2 separate regions of the Homo sapiens genome follow, and region 1 is linked to region 2. Evidence: promoter capture Hi-C in human tissues and cell types (Jung and others, 2019). All regions are on one chromosome and are shown on one strand. Each heading gives the region's core, a stretch centred on a gene start or on the middle of the fragment in contact. The rest is flanking DNA. Distances are from core to core; before and after follow the strand shown. Region 1 has its middle 210 kb from the start of CXXC4. Region 2 holds the start of CXXC4 (CXXC finger protein 4).

The links. Contacts are between HindIII fragments. The study calls those that stand out against the background at their distance.
Region 1: a contact is called between a fragment that was not itself captured here and the fragment with the promoter of CXXC4 in region 2, in 1 of the 25 tissues and cell types used here (H1 embryonic stem cells).

The regions. Positions count from the first base shown.
Region 1 is chr4:104,704,100-104,707,694 of GRCh38, forward strand. No RefSeq gene overlaps it. Among named protein-coding and RNA genes, the nearest start is that of CXXC4, 210 kb to the left of the region's middle. The HindIII fragment of the contact is 3,135 bases long and covers 1-2,962 here.
Region 2 is chr4:104,493,638-104,497,162 of GRCh38, forward strand. CXXC4 (CXXC finger protein 4) reads right to left here and starts at 1,257. Exons shown (of 3, transcript NM_025212.4): 1 at 1,064-1,257. The region is part of intron 1 of CXXC4-AS1 (CXXC4 antisense RNA 1); the gene reads left to right. The HindIII fragment of the contact is 3,942 bases long and covers 174-3,525 here.

The DNA of each region.
Region 1 (3,595 bases), core at 145-2,644, 210 kb after region 2:
AGCTGGCACTGTAACATTCTGTTTTGATGGTGATTTCATTACATTTTGGAAAATGCATACTTGACTTAAGCTTTAGTTGCTGAGAGTTCAATGAAAGAGGCCGACACTATATTTGTTTTGTGCTAAATGAGTATATTTGATGAAACACCTGATTTCTGTAACAATAACCACTACATATACCATAAACATGGGTAGCTACATTTATAGATTAATTAATGATAAATATGCACAGAGAAATCAGGCACTTAGCTAGACACTCAGCCTTCAAATCATTTTTCTTTAACCGATACGGCACTTGTTGAAATTCTACAAGCACATTTGCTTGAGTTCTCATTGAAATAATTTGGTTCATTTTTCAATTGACTTTTCTCACAAGTCAGAGAAGATTTGCCATGCTAAGGAAATCAGACTTACTACGCCAAAGAAATACAACATTTAGGGTAGACTATTTGGGTAATCATGTATTCTTAAAAGAAGAAAGCTTTTCTAAATAGAAATCAGAACAATGAACCTTTCAACAAAGCAGTGCATAGATAATTATTAAGATTACAAATATGCATGAAAACTAGAGGTAGCCAAAGATTGTCCACAGCTACTAATATGTTTTGACAGGACTATAATTTTGCTATACTTCAACAAGAGTTAAGGCTAGTCATGAAGTACAAACTGCGGGTTTGCCTGTTTTATATACTGAACAAAGAAAAATAGAAAAACAATTTCATTGAATCAGGATCAAAAGCATATATCAAGGGTATTTAGTCCTTAGAAATAAGCCGGTTCTCAAAAGTACTTTTAAAAACTTAAATAAAGCAAATTTTAATTATTCATATGAATAAAGAATTAATACTTAAGGTGAATTTTAATGTTCAGTAGATATGTATAATTATGTGTCTATTGTATTGACTTTATATACCGTTATGAAAGCAGATAAGAGAATGTAAAGTTTGTTTCTTCTGCTAAGTAATGTTGATTACATCATCACTGGTATTTTAAAAAATATGTATTTCACGTGATATTGAACATCAATGTAATTTTTTTCCTTTTCTATCCCAACAACAATACATACAAGTGAAACAACTTAGAATATATATATACAATATGGGTACAGTTGTTTGCCATCACTATGAATTCTAATTTTTGCATTAGGATCTTTTAGAATGAGAAAATTCCGAATTATAGAAGGATTCAGAGATTAAAATGCACTTTTATTGAATCCCTCTTTTTTGCTCCTCTCTCCCTCTGAAGTTATCAGAAAGCTTATCACTTGTCAGTATAAACACATAAGGTTAGGAAAAAATAGCATGAGAATGGTATATATTTATTTTTCTGGACTAAATAACATTGATGACATATTTAAATTGTTGGTCATTGTCCAGTTCACCTTGCTATTGACTTATTTTCATGTAAAAGTACTGGCTTGACAGTTGCACAGTTGTGTAAAAACATTAAATACTACTACTATTACTAACAGCTAACATTTGAGGATTTAGCATATGCCAGGCACTGTATTAAGTGCTATACATATTTCTTCTGATTTTCTCAACAAAACACACTATAGGGCAGGGGCAATGTTATTATCCATAATTTGTATATAAAAATATTTGAAAATACTAAGTGTAAAGAGTCTATATAACTAGCACAATGTTACACAGCAGAACATGGATAGAAATCCACACAATCTGAGGGACTTCAGGACCATACTTTAAACCACTATGCTAGCATGTTGTAGATAAAATATGCTGTTGATGCAATATTTAAATGCAAATAAGCATTCACATAAAAAATAAGCCACACTGCAATTGTTTATGGACATGATGAGTTTAAGAATGATGAGACCTACAATAATAAAATCTTAGAATATAATGTGTTACAGAGTCATCCAAGTCTAACACATTTTTACTGACTCTTATCATGGGCCCAACATTGTCCTCACCATTGTAGATATAGTAGTTAAACAAAGTTCTGCTTTTATGAATCTAACATTGCAATTAGAAAGCACACAAGAAGAATGGAAGTTTTTAGGGAATGACAAGGGCTATGGGGGAAAAAAATAAAACAAAGAGCTATAACAATAAGAAGGAAGAATTCCTTTAGCAAAAGTAGCTAGGTAAGGCTGCTCTAAGGAGGAAGCCTTTGAGTAAATGCTGAATGACAAGAAGGAGTCAGCAGTGGAAGCAGGTGGGAGCCAAGTGTTCCAGCAGAGGCAACAGCAAATGCACAGGTCTGAATTTGACAAGGAGTTTAGTTTTCTTTCTGGAAAAGAAAGATGGTCAGTATGGCTGGGACATATGGAGCAAGAAGGAAAAGGACAGAAACAGAGAAGGCAGAGTGGATCATTTAGGACCTTATAGGCAATGCAAAGAAATTTAGAGTTTATACTTTTATATCAAGTGAGAGAATGCTAGAATGGATTTAGATGGAGAAAGCAAAACTTCATTTAGGTTTTAAAAATCTCAGTCCCAGGCAAGATGGCCAAACAGGAGCAGCTCCAGTCTGCAGCTCCCAGCGAGACCCAATGCAGAAAACGGGTGATTTCTGCATTTCCATCTGAGGTACCTGGCTCATCTCATTGGGACTGGTTAGACAGTGGCTGGAGCCCACGGAGGGCAAGCCAAAGTATGGTGGGATGTCACCTCACCCGGAAGCACAAGGGATTGGGGAACTTGCTCCGCTAGCCAAGGGAAGCCATGAGTGAGGGACAGTGCTATCTGGCCCAGATACCATGCTTTTCCCACTGTCTTCAAAATCCACAGACTAGGAGATTTTCTCAGGTGCCTACACCACCAGGGCCCTGGGTTTCAAGCACAAAACTGGGCGGCTGTTTGGGCAGACAACAAGCTAGCTGCAGGATTTTTTTTTTTTTTCTGTAACCCCAGTGGTGCCTGAAACACCAGCAAGACAGAACTGTTCACTCCCCTGGAAAGGGGCCTCAAGCCTAGAAGCCGAGTGGTCTTGCTCAGTGGATCCCACCCCCATGGAGCCCAACAAACTAAGATCCATAGGCTGGAAATTCTCCCTGCCAGCACAGCAGTCTGAAGTCGACCTGGGACACTTGAGCTTGGTAGGGGGAGAGGCATCCGCCTTTACTGAGGCTTAAGTAGTCAGTTTTCCCCTCACAGTGTAAACAAAGCTGCCAGAAAGTTCGAAATGAAAGGAGCCCACCACAGCACCACAAAGCCGCTGTAGCCAGACTGCCTCTCTAGATTCCTCTTCTCTGAGCAGGGCAACGCTGAAGGAAAGGCAGCAGCCCCATCAGGGGCTTATAGATAAAACTCCCATCTTCCGGGGACAGAGCACCTGGGGGAAGGGGCGCCTGTGGGTGCAGCTTCAGCAGACTTAAACATTCCTGCCTGCTGGCTCTGAAGAAGGCAACAGATCTCTGAGCACAGCGCTTGAGCTCTGCTAAGGGACAGACTGCCTCCTCAAGTGGGTCCCTGACCCCTGTGCCTCCTGAGAGGGAGACATCTCCCAGCAGGGGTTGACAGACACCTCATACAGGAGAGCTCCAGCTAGATTCTGGTGAGTGCCCCTCTGGAATGTAGCTTCCAGAGGAAGGAGCAGGCAGCAATCTTTGCCATTCTGCAGCTTCTGCTGG
Region 2 (3,525 bases), core at 7-2,506:
AAGTCCCTAATCACTCAGGAACCACCTCTGTGGTTTCGCATTAGGGAAAACTGCTGCCTTCTCAGGTCTGAGGGCAATACAAAAGGTGCCCCCAAAATGCTCTTGGCTAAATATTCTTGATGCTTGGAAGGGGTGAGGGAAGACACAGCAAGAATATGCATATAGCTTCAGTTTCTGCGAATCACATTGTAACTGCAAGACCATAATAACTGCTACTCAGTAAAAACTAGTTATGTCAACCATGCATTAGATATCATCACATTGAGTGGAGGGAAAATTTTCAACCTTTTAGTCTTTTGACCTTGTTCCAAATAAATAAATAATTTAACGTCCCTTTTTTAGAGTCTTAGAGTGGTGTTTCCAAACACAAGCTTTCCTTGCTTTTCTGATTGCCATCACCATCCCTCTTCCTACCTCAAGGTTTAATACCACCAGAAACTGTAGAAAATGATTATGCCCAGTATCCAGGTCATTATTGTTTAATCAATGCATCTCTGGAGCATGAAAAAGGTATCTAAGCCACAGCTATTGTTTGGATTTTATTTAAAAACAAAATAAAACACACACAAATAACTATAGTTCTATGCCAAAGCTAAATTAGAGATCCATACTTCATGATCCTGTTTTGCCTTTAAACAATGTGACTTTACATGCCTAATACTGTATGTCTGGTCTACCAGAGACATAGAGATCAAAGGTCATATTTAACATTCAGGAGGAGGGGCGGGTGCAGACTAATTAATAAATTAATACAGCGACGCTTTTTCTTGCTGGAGTCCAGCATTAATAATCTACTTTCACAATCCCAACGGACAGCAAACATTTAAGAGAAAAAAAAGCCAGAGAAAGAGAAAGAACAATCACTTACCAGTCTCTTTTTATTTGGGGAGCCTTAGAATTTGCAGACGCTGCCAGTCTGCCTTTAATTAGTTGCACATCACCCCCTAACACAAAGAAACACAAATCCAGATGTGTCTTGGCAGCTCCCAATTACAACTTTAATACTTGTAAACAAACTGTTGGGGGGGGGGGGGTAAATAAATATGCGGATCAAAAAAAATACCTGTAAATGGCTTTTTTTTCTTGTTGCAGAGAGAAGGAGGAGGAGATGGTGTTAGTGGTGGGGGTGGAAGGAGGAGGAGGTGGGGGGAGAGGAAAGAGTCGAGTGTGAGTGTATGTGTGAGAGCGCGGGTCTGTTGTCGGTGGTCTCTCCTCTCCCAGCGCGTTGCTCTCCGTCCGTCTCCAGTCGCTGTGTGCGAGGGAGGGAGGGAGCCGGGGAGTCTCTCCTCTCTCTCTCCCCTCTCTCTCTCTCTCTCTCTTCCCCTCTCTCTCACCCTCCCCCCTTCTCTCTCTGTTTGTGTGTGTGCGAGTGTGCGGTTGCTGGGGGAGGGGAGCCACAGAGAAAGGCGAGGGAGGAGGTGTGGAGGCTGGGGGCGGGGGCGCGGGGGTGGGGGTGATTGGCGCCGAGGTGAGGAGGACGCAGGGACGTGGACACCTACTGATGATTGGCTGCAAATTACACGGGGAACAAGAGGCGCACGCGGGCCAGCGCTCCTTTTCACAAATCCTCTCCTCGGCAGAGGAGCCACGTTTTCCCTGCTCGCCTGCGGATCGCCCTCCCTCCTCGCGCCCGGCTCTCCGGCTCAGCCCAGCACACAGGGCTGTTGATTATTTTCTTTTGCTCTCGGAGATAATTGTTTGGAAGGGTTGGAAAGAGGGCGTTTCCGCCACTCTGCGTGTGGGGTGTGTGTGTGCGTGCGTGTGCGGGTGTGTGTGTAAATAAACTTGTCTGGGATTTCTGGCTGGGTTGAGAAGAGCAATACAAGAAACAGAGAAAAGGTCATGTTTGTTTGAAGAATGCTCTTAGTTCGTACCCAATGGCATGGTTTTAAATAAATTTCCTGGTGTACCCAGGAAGACTTTAAAAAAAAATACCATTTAGATCTTTAAAGTAAGGGAAAACGGACCGGTGTGGTTCTTCAGACCCTCGAAGTACTATTATGCCAGAATGTAAAAAATCGGTGATATGATGCTTGGCCAATTTCAAAATCCATCTCAATCTCTGTCTCTCTTCTCTACTCTTCTCTCTCTCCTCCCAAAATCCTCTTTTACTATTCCATCTGGTAGTTCCAAAGAATAAATCAGATTTTTAACTCACTGCCCTATTTTTTAATTTCAAACTTTACTTAAACAAAAACTTTTGTCTTTCAGTCTATTTTAGAATAGTATGTAATTAACATTTCACTTCTTGCCACTTGGGAAAACATAGTTTATGAATTGAAACATAAATATTGTACGGCACGTCAAATATAAATAAAACTCGTTCATAAATGCAGCTGTAAATTAACCTCTTCACTGCTGCCTCAAATAAAATATTTGTGGACACATGCTATCCTACTATTAAAGTATACTCTAGTGGAAATAGTTATAAGATACAGAATTATGAATACTTTTGAATAATTTTTTTTCTAAGAGCAAAACAGTGGCTAAGGTAAGTTATAGAGTAGGAAAGAAAAAACTTAAGATTATTTAAATTGGTGTTATCAAGCAGAGTACAAGTTTTGTATTAAAATTAAGTGTTTATTCTAGAGTAATGCAATATTAATTGTTCAGATAAGTGAGGAAAATATAATGTTTTGTTTCTTTAATAAGAAAAAAAAGCTGAAAAGACATTTTAAACCATTTTGTATTTGAATTTTCAAAAGATAGACTTTGACCATATCAAGACATTACCAACTATGGAGGATAAATTGTTGATAACAAGTTTGAAACTGTGGTGTGTGTATGCCTAAATGAAGGTGTTATTTCAAGAGTGGGCTACTATTGCAATAGGAAACAGGTGTATTTTGTGACTCATTGATTAATATACATGTTTTGTAATTTTTTTAAAGCATAAGCTGTTTGATTATTACCGGTTATTTGACATCTATAGACAAAATAACTGGAGGGTTAATAATTATTCAAGTTAATAAGATATTTTTATTCTTGTGCTAATGCATTATAAAAGCAAAAAAGGAAATTTTCCATTTGATTATTTTGTTTTAGCTCAGCTTCATAGGAAATTTATCAGGAAAATGTGGTCACTTTTTAATGAGTGAAAACATGCTAGAAAAATGATAGATTCTTAAACATCTTTTCACAATATTTAAAATATCAGTCCAATGTTAGAAATTTTGAAGTTTATAAATAAGCAATGTTTTTAATCAAATAAAGACATCATGCTTTCTTTTGCCAAATTTTCTTTTCTGGAAATTTTCCTTTTTGGAAATTCCTTTTCTCATGCTTTCCTTTTTGGGACTCTTCAAGCTTACTTTCAAAATGAAATCTTAAACACGTGAGAGAAAATATGTTCTAAATTCCAATGAATTTTACTTTCCAGCTAATGAAGGAAAACTACAGAATTCTTGGTCTTAATAATTAATAATAATAGCCCCTATTAATGACCCATTAGTGTCAGATCCTGCACTAAGTAATTTGCAGATATTCTATTTTGTCCTTGCAATAATCCTGTGAAGTGGCTATTAT